Linked DNA regions of Homo sapiens: regions 2, 3 and 4 are each linked to region 1. The links are contacts of gene promoters, found by promoter capture Hi-C in human tissues and cell types (Jung and others, 2019). All regions are on one chromosome and are shown on one strand. Each heading gives the region's core, a stretch centred on a gene start or on the middle of the fragment in contact. The rest is flanking DNA. Distances are from core to core; before and after follow the strand shown.

Region 1 (2,700 bases), core at 56-2,555:
TGGGGTGGTGGCAGAGAGGAGGCCTAAAATGAGCGCACTTTGCAATGCCCACTTCGCGCGGGCAGCAGCAAGGGTTGCGTGCGTTGGCGCGGCTCGGAGGGCCGGGGAATGAACCCAGCCTGCCGCCCCCGTGGAGGCCTGGGCCGGCCAGGGGTCAGCCAGGGAGAAGCAGAAGGAACAAGTGCTTTTGAGGGCCGCCGCCGTCGGCCACCCTCTACGGCTCCCGGCTCCCTCCCTCTCCCTTACCCTTAGCACCCACAGCCCAGCGACAGACAGGTCCTTTCACAGAAAATCTGAGAAAGCCAGACTGCCTGGGCTCAAGCAGGCGGAAAAGGTGGCCCCCAGCAGCCCGGGTCGCTCCTCCAGCGACGCGGCGGGACTCAGGCTGCCAGCCTGGGAGACTGGGGAGTAGAGGGACCCCCAGTCCCCGGGGGAACCGCCTGGGCTGCCCAGCTCCCCGCAGTGCGGCGCCGGCGGCTCCAGCGCGTACAAGCTGTGGTCCGCTATGCGCAGCGTTTGAGTCAGCGCCCAGATGTAGTTGTGGGCGAAGCGCAGCGTCTCGATCTTGGTGAGCTTCGCGTCGTCTGGGAAGGTGGGCAGGACACCGCGCAGGGCGTCCAGTGCCGAGTTGAGGTTGTGCATTCGATTGCGCTCGCGGTCGTTGGCCTTCTTTCGCCGACTCCGTCGCTGCTTGCTCAGTGCCAACTCGCTCTTAGGCCGGCTGCGTCCCCCGCGCCGTGCCCGGAGCTTCCTCGGGGCCCCTCGGCAGCCTCCCTCTTCCGCCTCTGCGCAGTTCCCCCGTGTGCGAGTGGGGCTGGGCGGGGCGGACGTGGGGCAGGTCACTTCGTCTTCCGAGGCTCTGGGGAAGGACCGCTCCGTCTCACGGGTCACTTGGACAGTGGGCGCACCCGAGGGTTGAGGCGTCATCCTACGGCGGGGTCAGAGGGAAGGGTAAGTTTGAGTCCGTCACTGGGCGCAGTCCGCGATTCCGAGGCTAGGTGGGAAAAAACAAAAACAGCCATCCTCCCAGCCCCCGCTGGGTCAGAGGATCCCTCTTTCCCCTGCCCGTCCCTCGGAGGCCTCCAAATATTACCTTTCTACCGGCGCAAAAGAATAGAGAGCGATGAGCAGCGAGGGCCGTGGGGAGCTCAGCGGGCTTCTGGTCGCCAAGTTCAGCTGAGCTGCAGGCGCCCCCGCCTGGGAGTTGCCCCAGCCCCAAAGGAGAAAAGAAGAGAGAATGGGGTCCGAGGCCTCTGTCACGCTCTCTCTCGAGGCGCGGCGGTGAGACCGCAGGGATTTCCTGAGCAGCAAGTCGTGTGCCCCTTGGCACGCTTTATCTGCTTCGCCCGGGCCAGGAGCGTGCCTGCCCGGCTGCTGCCCGCGCCACCGGCCAATCAGCGCCGGGGCCCTGGGGCCGCGCCACGCGAGCCCGCTCCTCCCCCGCAGGGCACAGCTGGATTCCGGACAAAGGGCCGGGGTCGGGGGAGGGGAGCGCCGCTCTGTTTGCTCTCTCGAGGGCGGGCTGGGTCCCAGCAACTCTCGGTTCCTCAAAGAGCCTCGCCCAGTGAGAAGAGCCTCGTGTGGCTCTGGTCAGGCCACCTCAGACGGCTTTGCTCCTAGCCTATCTTTCCTTAGCATCTGTCCTGGAGGGGACTTTGATGCCTCTAGGGTACAATGCCTGCACGTTACACATGGGGAAATTTAGGCTTAGTGAGGGAGGTGGCTTGTCTGAAATCGCACAGGAAGATAGTGGCAAAGACAACCACGAGCTCATTGTCCTGACTAGCAGCCTGGAGAAGGGTCCAGGAATTCTAAAGGACGCCCTGCTCTCCTGGTGTTTCACTGCCTCTCTTCATCCTGGAAGACAGGGGACATCACTGAGAGAGATCCTGCCTATGTCCCTTCCATTCGCAGACCTTTTGGGGGTGTCCGAGCCTCTGCCACACCCTGAGATGCTACCTCACACTCCCCAGAGGCGCTTAGAACCCCACCCCCATAGATCCCACTCCAGAGGCAGGGGTTGGCTGTGCGGGGACCCCTCAAGCGGACATTCCATTACTACAAGCCTACTACAGCTTGTAGATAGTATCCCAGCGTTCTGGCCAGGAACCGTGACAGGAAGAGTTCTGGGAAGTGTGAGGAGGGGAGGAAGGAACCAGGAGTTCACAGTGAGCTCTTGCTTCTTTTTTTTTTTAAACGAACAAACAAAACCAAAAAACGGTCTCCTTCTGTCGCCCAGGCTGGACTGCAGTGGTGCAATCACAGCTCACTGCAGCCTTGATCTCCTGGGCTCAAGCTATCCTCCCACTTCAGCCTTCCCAGTAGCTGAGACTACAGGCATGCGCCACTGTGCCCGGCTAATTTATTTGTATTTTTATTTTGTATGGGGTGAGGGGCGGTCTTGCTTTGTTGCCCAGGATGGTCTCGAACTCCTGGGCTCAAGCGTTCCTTTCACTTCAGTCTCCCAAGGCGCTGGGAAGCAGAGCTGCTGTGCCCCTCCCCCTCGTGTCTTTTGAACTACCACAGCGTGCAGGCACTGGGAGAAGCTGATAAACTTTTTCTCCCCTTAGTCCTCCGGTCCAATCACAGACAGACAGCAGCTGCCAGCAGTCACCTGCTCCAGCCCCCTGCCTCTGCATCACTCGGGCATCGCACAGAGAGCACAAGGCAGGGACTTCCCCAGCCCCTTGGGTTGTCCCT
Region 2 (2,790 bases), core at 77-2,576, 36 kb after region 1:
AACATAGTAAAGATGTTAATTCTGTCCAAATTGATATACAGGTTTAACACAATTCCTATTAAAATCCCAGAGAGATTTTTTGTAGATATAGACAAAATTATTCTAGAATTTATATGGAAATGCAAAGGAACTAGAATGGCAAAACAATTTTGGAAAAAAATAGTAGCTAAATCAATTAAGTCTATTTTATTTTGAGACATTATATAGCTATAGTAATCAAGGATGTGTAGAGGAATAGACACATAGATCAATGGAACAGAACAGAGAGCCCAGAAACGACCCACACAAATATGCCTAACTGATTTTTTTTTTTTTTTGAGACAGGGTGATAGGCTGGAGTGCAGTGGCATGATCTTGGCTCACTGCAACCTCTGTCTCCTGGCCTCAAACGAGCCTCCCACCTCAGCCTCCTGAGTAGCTGGGACTCTAGGTGTATGCCACCATGCCCAGCTAATTTTTGTATTTTTAGTAGAGATGAGATTTTGCCATGTTCCCCATGCTGCTCTCAAATTCCTAGGCTCAAGTGATCTGCCTGCCTTGACCTCCCAAAGTGCTGGGATTGCAGGCATGAGCCACCACTCCCAGCTCGAAGTGATTTTTAAAAATAAAGGTACAAATGCAATTAAATGAAGAAAAGGTAGCCATTTCAAGAAGTGGTGTTGAAGCCAGTGGATGTTCATAGGAAAAAGGAAAGGAAAGAAAAGAAACTCATCACTTATGCAGAAATTAAATCAACAGATTCTAGACTTAAGTGTAAACATAACATTATAAAACTTGTAGAAAAAATTATAAAAATTCTTCAGGATGTAGGGATAAAGAGCTTTTAGACATGGTGCCAAAAGCAAGAACTATAAGAGAAAAAAAATGGATAAATTGGACTTTATCAGAATTCAAAACCTGTTCTCTGTCAAAGACTCTGCTAAAAGGATGAAAAGACAAGATATGGAGTGGGGAAAGTACTTGCAAAGCCTATATCCAACAGAGGACTAATATCTAGAATATATACAGAACTCTCAAAACTAAACAGTAAAAACCCAAACAATTCAATTAGAAAATGAAGACTTAGATTCACACAAAAACTTGTACATGAATCTTTATAATAGCTTTATTCCTAATAGCCCAAACTGGAAACAGCACAATTGTTATATAATGTATAAATGGTTAAACCGTGGTATGTCCATATCATGAAATACTACTTAGCAGTGAAAAGGAATAAACTACTGATAGGCACAACAACCTAAATGAATAGAATTGCATAGAATTATACTGGGTACAAAAGCCAACTCCAAATGGTTACATACTATATGATTCCATTTATATCATACTCTTGCAATAGTAAAATTATAGAAATGGAAAACAGATTCATTGTTGACAAGGATTAAAGATGAGCTGTGGCTATAAAAAGGCAATATGAGAAGCACTGTGGTGATGAAAGTGTTCTTTATCCTGATGGTGTCAATGTCAGTACTCTGGTGGGATATTGTACTGCAGTTCTGCAAAATGTTACCACTGGAAGAAACTGTGTAAAGAGTGTGATGGATTGCTATGTATTATTTCTTAAAATAAAATATAAATATAAAGTTATCTTAAAATGTAAAACTTAATTTAAAAACACAACATCTGCTTGAATTTATTAGGGAACCAGCAAGGTAGTTATGGTAAACTGTAAGATGACTACAAATTCATCCCATGCATATCCTTCTACAGTGTGACATAGCTGTACCTGCCACTGAGAGATGCATCCCTTGAAGTGGGATGAAGAGTTTATTTCTCCATCTCTGGAAATGAATATGAGCCAGGTGCAGTAGCTTGTACTGTAATCCCAGCACTTTGGGAGGCTCAGGTGGGAGGATTGCTTGAGGCTAGGAGTTTGAGATCAGCCTGGGTGACAGAGCAAGACCCAATTTCTACAATTTTTTAAAAAAAATTTAAAAAAAGAAACTGATGTGTATTGACCAATGGGACATGAACAAACACAATTCAAGCATAAGTTTTAAAAGCACTTCTTCAGAAACAAGGAAAGGATGTCCCGTCTCACCACTGCTTTTCAACATCATACTGGAAGTCCTAGCTAATGCAATAAGAAAAGGAAAAAAGGTGTACAGATTATGAATTAAGAAAGAAAACTCCTTGTTTCATCTGAAATCTGAAAGAAATCTGAAAGAACTGACCAAAAAACCCCTCCTGGAAATAATAAGCCATTATAGCAAGGTTGTAGGATACAAGGTCAATATACAAAATTCAATCACTCTCCTATATACCAGCAATGAATAAGTGGAATTTAAAATTAAAAGCACAACATCAAGTACATTAGCATCCCCCAAAATAAAATATTCAGGTGTAAATCTAACAAAATATGTATAAGATCTACACGAGGAAAACTACAAAACTCTTGTGAAAGAAATCAAAGAAGAACTAAATAAATTGAGAGATATCCCATGTTCATGGATAGGAAGACTCAATATTATCAAGATATCAGCTCTTCCCAATTTGATTCAACACAATCTCAATGTAAATCCCAGCAAGTTGTTTTGTGGTTATTGACAAACTGATTCTAAAGTTTACATGGGTAGGCAAAAGTCTCAGAATAGCCAACACAATATTGAAGGGGAATTAAAAAGTTCAAGGACTAACATTACCTGACTCCAAGACTTACTATAAAACTGCAGTAATCAAGACAGTGTGGTATTTGTGAAAGAATAGACAAGTAGATCAATGAAACAGAATAAAGAGTGCAGAAATAGACCCACATAAGTATAATCAACTGATCTTTGACAACAGAGAAAAAGC
Region 3 (3,011 bases), core at 296-2,795, 64 kb after region 1:
CTCTCCACCCTCCAGCTAGTCCTGGAAGTGGGGACTAAACCATCATCTCCCTGAAGGAGACACCAAGCCTGAGATCAGGTGAAACAGTGACTCTGGTTTTGCCAGTTCCCCCGAGCAGCTGTCTCTCAGCTCCTGCCTCCCTGTGACGGGGCCTTTTAGCATAGGTGAGGGCTGGGGATGTTGGGCTCCCTCTCTGGGGCCTTTCTAGCTCCATGGGTCTGAGGGGGAAGCCCTGAGGCAGTGGTCAAGGCGTCTGTCCACTTGGATGCCTGAACCTGAGGACAGGGGAGGAAAGCCGCCCCTGCGCTCTGGCTCACCGGGTGGCACAGGAGGCCTGTTTGCAGGCCTGGCTCTGCTCTTTGTGGACAGTTCACTCAGCCTCTTGAGCCTTGGTTTCCTCATCCCTGTGAAGGGATGATGATCTGGGACCTGCCCGCCTCTCAGAGCCTTTCAGGGGATCACTGAAAGCATGGTGGGTAGGAGGTGGGCAGAGGGCCGTGGAGAGGGGGACTGCGCCTGCCCCTGAGCTGCCTCTGCAGGTGCTGCACCATGGCCCACAGCTTCTGTACTGGCAGCTTTGGCTCCAGAGTGGCTGCCTTGTCCAAGGCACCTGGGATCCCTGGCTGGGGCGGTGCTGGGCTTTTAAGAGCAGAGTTGCCCCTCCCGCAGCTGTTAGAGAAGAAACACAGCCACTTCGCTGTGCTCCTGAAAGCTGAGGGGCTTGTTGCTGGTGTTGAATGTCAGGACTGGATGCTGTTTGTTGAGAGTGTATGGAGTGCCTGGCCCTGTGCTAAGCACGTTATGTCATTTAATTGTCACTAGCACCTTATGACATAAATATTGTCACTGTCATCTTTATTTCACGACAGAGGACATGGCAGAGGGTTTATAACTTGCTGTAGGACCCAGAGCGAGCTGGGTGGAGCTAGGATTCAGAGACCTACAGCCCTTGCTCTTGACCACTCCTCTCTTTTACCTCTGGCCGTACCTGCATCAGCATCGCCTAGAAACCTGCAGATACAGATGCCCAGCTGTACTACCTGCTAAGACCTGCCTGCAGCCCCATGAGATCAGCTGTGTGGGGGCAGAGGGCACAGAAGTTGGTGCAAGGGTGCTGGCTGCAGCTGCCCAGCTGGGTGGCCTCAGTGGCTTCCCAGTCCTGGGTCACAGTCATGGAGATTTAGCTCTCTTCCCTGCATTCCCGAATGCATATTTTCATTGCAAAGTGACAAATCCAGTGATCTCTCAAAGGGTTAAGTGGGGGCAGGGGAGGGAGGCAGCAGAGCTCTGCTGCCAAAACTAGATAGAGAACCTGCAGCCTGCCCAGCCAGTAGGACAAGCAAGCCTACCCCGCCTGGTGCTGCCACCCAGTGCCCAAAAGAGCAGCAAGAGAAAGTTCAAGAAGCAGGTAGAGTGAGAGCTTCAAAGAATTACAAAGGGGGTGTGTATGGAGGGGTGTATGTGTGTGCCTCTGAGCCTCTGGTTTGAGGCTGGGGGCAGGGCTGAAACCAAATGGCTTTAGGGACTCAGAGTTTGGAAGGAGAAGGTTGGAGCTACTTGAGATGAAGCTGGAGGGCCACTGCCCCAAGTGCCCAGGCAGGTGGGGCACAGGGCTGGGAGCCAGGGCTGGTCTGCATTGGCCCAGCGGCCAGCTCCAGTCCCTCTGGTGGGCGGGGGCCCTGCTGGGGGCTGAATGCCTGCTTCCCATTCCCGGCTTCAGCTCTGTTAACCAGAGGCCTTGGCACAACCCAGCATCTCCCTAAACCTCCGTGTCCTCATCTGCACCTCCCACAGTGAGAGGATCAAGTACATTAATTCATGGGAAGCACTTAGCCGTTTCTGGCACAAGTTAGTGCTCAATGTTACTGTATTCACAGAGAAATGGTATTAGGACTCACTTAACATTTTTTTTTTTAACAGCAGCTCACATCTTAAATTAATTTTTTAAAAGGAAGCTTCATATTACTATTGTAAATGGAAAGCCAATACTACTTGCCATTCACAGTAGGTATTCGTACAAATGAATCCAGGACAAAACGAATGATATTCCATTTTAGCTAGTCACTGCCATTGTCCAAGCCCTTAGCCTGATGCCTGCTTTCTTTGTTAAAAAAGTCAGTTTATGAAGATTGGGAGTGGTGCAGAAGCCTCACTGGCCCCTCACTGAGACATTCTCCTCGATGGATTCAGAGGACTGAAGAGAAACAAAGAGGAATGACTTCCTCACCATCCGATTCGGTGCTGTGTTTGTAAATTGCTTATAATCATCTTGTGCACCACCCCAAATCATTTCACTCCCTGGCGGGTAAGAGTACCCCACAACTGCGGGAAACATGGTATGATCTTGAGCAAGCTATTTTAAAAGTCTTACTCTTTGTAAAGTAATGCATTCGTGTGGTTCAGATGATATAATGTACAAATGTATATAGAGAAAAGCCTTTCTCCCTCCTCTGTCCCCATCCATCCATCCCTCCTCCACTCCACTATAACTACTGTTCTTAGTGTCTTCTAAATACTTCCAGAATTTAGTTATGCAAATATGAGCAAACATGAATATACTATTTTTTCTTTTTTTATACAAATAATAGAAAAATTTGACACGTTTTTCTCTGCCTTTTGCATTTTTCACTTAGCAGTGTATCTTGGCACATTTTATATGAGTACATGAAGAGCATTTTCATCCTGCAGTATTTTGGTGTTTGAGTTGTCGACCCTGTCTTGGGCTCACCTGTACCATGGGGGATTGACTCAGTTGACCCTCAGGGCCTTGCAGCTCTGACCCTGAACCAACCCATGGGGTTTTTCCCTGAAATGTGGGGATCTTGACAGAACTGTCTCCCTTTCTCCAGGGCCCAAGGGGAGATATCACAACCTTATAGGGTTTCTCAGTCTCCTTTGCAGTTGGATAGGGTGCAATTTCTGCCCTCATCTGGCTCCTTGAAAAGGCGCAGTGGCCTCACCTGAACACTGCCTCCTGGGTCACACTGCACCCTGAGACGAGCTGAGAGGGA
Region 4 (2,700 bases), core at 70-2,569, 34 kb before region 1:
TCCTGAGGGTGGGGACTGGGAATTGTCTTAGTTCAGGCTGCTATAACAAAATACCATAGGCTGGGGGCCTTAAGCAACAGACATTTATTTCTTACAGTTCTGGAGGCTGGAAGTCTGAGATCAAGACCTGCACGGTTGAGTTCTTGTGATGGCCCTTAGGGCAGTTGCAGACAGCCATCTTCTCACTCTGTCCTCATGTGGTAGAGAGGAAGCCCTGGAGTCTCTTCTTATAAGGGCACTAATCCCATTGTGAGGACCCCACCTTCATGACCTCATCTAAACCTAATCACCTTCCAAAGGCCCCATCACCAAATACCATCACAGTGAGTGTTAGAGCTTCAACACAGGAATGGAGGGGGGAAACAAACATTCATTCCCTAACAGGAATGGATTTGAAAGTTACTGATATGGGGGTTTGCCTGGTTTAGTGATGGCTGAATGTGGGTCGGAGAAAGAGGTAAGAGGTGATGACCCTGTCTGAGAGGTGAGGACCCCTCCTCCCAGGACCCTGGCTTTTCTGAGGGCATGAATAATGGCACCTCTGATATACAAAGGGCTGACAGAGGAGCAGGAGGTTTGTTTGAAGATATTGAGTGGTTTTAGGCCCAGGCTCTGGAGCAAGACCCCTGGGTGTGAATCCCACCTTCCCCACTTACTAGCTACAGTGGCCTTGGGTAGTCCCTTAACTTCTTGATGCCTTGAAGGGAAGTAACAACACCTGAGTCACAGGAGTGTGGGACTCCACAGAGGGTGATAATCCACGTAAAGTGCATCACTCAGCCTGGCTCACAGTCAGCACTCAGTGAGGTCACTCATGACCATCACAATGACTGACTAGAGGCTCCATAGGCAGCTGGCATGAAGGGAATTCTGGTTTGAGAGATCATGACCAGCCTGAGAGTTATTTTCCCACCTCCAGTTCCTTCCTGTGTGTTGAGAGCTTGCATGCACGTGTAGACGCCCCAGCCTGTGTGTCCAAGCTCTGTCCACAGCTCCCTGCAAAGAGCTAGATTAACTTACCCTGCAGTAGTGTGCAGTATGAAGAAAAGGGAAGCCATTCCTTGTGAGAAGCTTGAGGGAGGACTAGTCAGAGAGAGTGTGAGGACATGAAAGAAGGGACAGAGAGATTCCAAATGAAGGGGTAGTCAACAGCCTTCAATATTGAAGGGACTGGGAGTCAAATGAAGGCTGAAAAGTCCTAAATTTGGCTCATAGAGGTCCTTGGTGACATTAGCAAGGACAGTCTTTTGGAGACAGAGAGCAGTTGATAGAGTAGGAACCAGGCCTGGGGGCTTGAAGGCCTCTGAGATGGAATGGAAAACCAAATATTGTATGTTCTCATGTATAGGTGGGAGATAAGCTATGAGGACACAAAGGCATAAGAATGATATAATGGACTTCGGAGACTTGCAGGAAAGGGTGGGAGGGGAGTGAGGGATAAAAGACTACACACTGGGTATGGTGTACACTGCTCAGGTCATGGCTACACCAAAATCTCAGAAACTACCACTAAAGAACTCATTCATGTAACAAAAAAAATAGAAGAAGAAGAGGAAGAGGAAGAAGAGGAAGAGGAAGAGGAAGAAGAAGAAAGAAGAAGAAGAAGGAAGAAGAAGAAGAAGAAGAAGGAGAAGGAGAAGGAGAAGGAGAAGAAGAAGAAGAAGAAGAAGAAGAAGAAGAAGAAGAAGAAGAAGAAGAAGAAGGAGAAGGAGAAGGAGAAGGAGAAGGAGAAGAAGACTCAGCCCCTGCAGGATTAAGGAATAGAAAATTCAAAGGAAAAGGAAAAGGAACAGGGCTCCAACCAGAGAGTGTCTCTCTCATGCTGAAGAAGTCTCCAGAAATTAGTTTGGGGCTGATTCCATGGTGAGAGGAGCTCAGATTCCTTCTATTATGTTGCTCCCAGGGGAATAACCTGTCTCCAGATTTACCTCAAGACCAATACAGCTGCTCCTGCTCCAGCCATCATGTTCATGTTCCAGCTAGCAAGAAGATGGGAAAGAGTGTACAACACCCTCCTTTTAAGGAAGAAACCCAGAAACACATATATCACTTTTACTTATCTCACATAGGCTAGAGCTTAGCCCTCAGCCACACTTTGCTGCAGGGGGATGCTGGAAAATGTAGTCTTTTTTTTTTTTTGAGACAGAGTCTCACTGTCACCCAGGCTGCCATAGCCACCTGAATAGTTGGGATTACAGGCATGCACCATGATGCCCGGCTAATTTTTGTATTTTTAGTAGAGACAGGGTTTCACCATGTTGGCCAGGCTGGTCTCGAACTCCTGATCTCAAGTGATCCACCTGCCTCGGCCTCTCAAAGTGCCAAGGTGGGTGGATCATGAGGTCAGGAGATCGAGACCATCCTAGCTAACACGGTGAAACCCCATCTCTACAAAAAACATTTAAAAAAATTAGCCAGGCGTGGTGGCAGGCACCTGTAGTCCCAGCTACTCAGGAGGCTGAGGCAGGAGAGTGGTGTGAACTCGGGAGGCAAAGCTTGCAGTGAGCTGAGATTGCACCACTGCAAATGTAGTCTTTATTTTGGTGCCCATGCACAGCTTAAAATCCTCCCAAGATGAAAAAGAGGAGGATGGGTATTGGGAAATAGTCGTTTGGCCACTGCTTGTAGGCAAGGGGGCATGAATGTGAGGGGATTTCAATCAGAAGGCTTCTATTTTTTTCTCCATGAATTACGAGATGA

What was found. Contacts are between HindIII fragments. The study calls those that stand out against the background at their distance.
Region 2: a contact is called between a fragment that was not itself captured here and the fragment with the promoter of NEUROG3 in region 1, in 1 of the 25 tissues and cell types used here (mesendoderm cells).
Region 3: a fragment that was not itself captured here is called in contact with the fragment with the promoter of NEUROG3 in region 1 in 1 of the 25 tissues and cell types used here (H1 embryonic stem cells).
Region 4: a contact is called between a fragment that was not itself captured here and the fragment with the promoter of NEUROG3 in region 1, in 4 of the 25 tissues and cell types used here (H1 embryonic stem cells, IMR-90 fibroblasts, liver and 1 more).

The regions. Positions count from the first base shown.
Region 1 is chr10:69,572,117-69,574,816 of GRCh38, forward strand. NEUROG3 (neurogenin 3) reads right to left here and starts at 1,306. Exons shown (of 2, transcript NM_020999.4): 1 at 1,094-1,306; 2 at 1-928. The coding sequence starts at 927. The coding sequence ends at 283. LOC101929021 (a long non-coding RNA gene) reads left to right here and starts at 841. Exons shown (of 4, transcript XR_946037.2): 1 at 841-951. RefSeq lists an enhancer at 1-99 and a silencer at 1,357-1,576. The HindIII fragment of the contact is 13,443 bases long and covers 1-2,700 here.
Region 2 is chr10:69,608,095-69,610,884 of GRCh38, forward strand. No RefSeq gene overlaps it. Among named protein-coding and RNA genes, the nearest start is that of FAM241B, 21 kb to the right of the region's middle. The HindIII fragment of the contact is 6,856 bases long and covers 1-2,790 here.
Region 3 is chr10:69,635,760-69,638,770 of GRCh38, forward strand. No RefSeq gene overlaps it. Among named protein-coding and RNA genes, the nearest start is that of FAM241B, 7.0 kb to the left of the region's middle. The HindIII fragment of the contact is 5,328 bases long and covers 1-3,011 here.
Region 4 is chr10:69,537,836-69,540,535 of GRCh38, forward strand. It overlaps LOC105378345 (a long non-coding RNA gene), which reads right to left and starts at 745. Exons shown (of 3, transcript XR_007062177.1): 1 at 657-745. It also overlaps a transcript of TSPAN15 not described here. The HindIII fragment of the contact is 3,776 bases long and covers 1-2,700 here.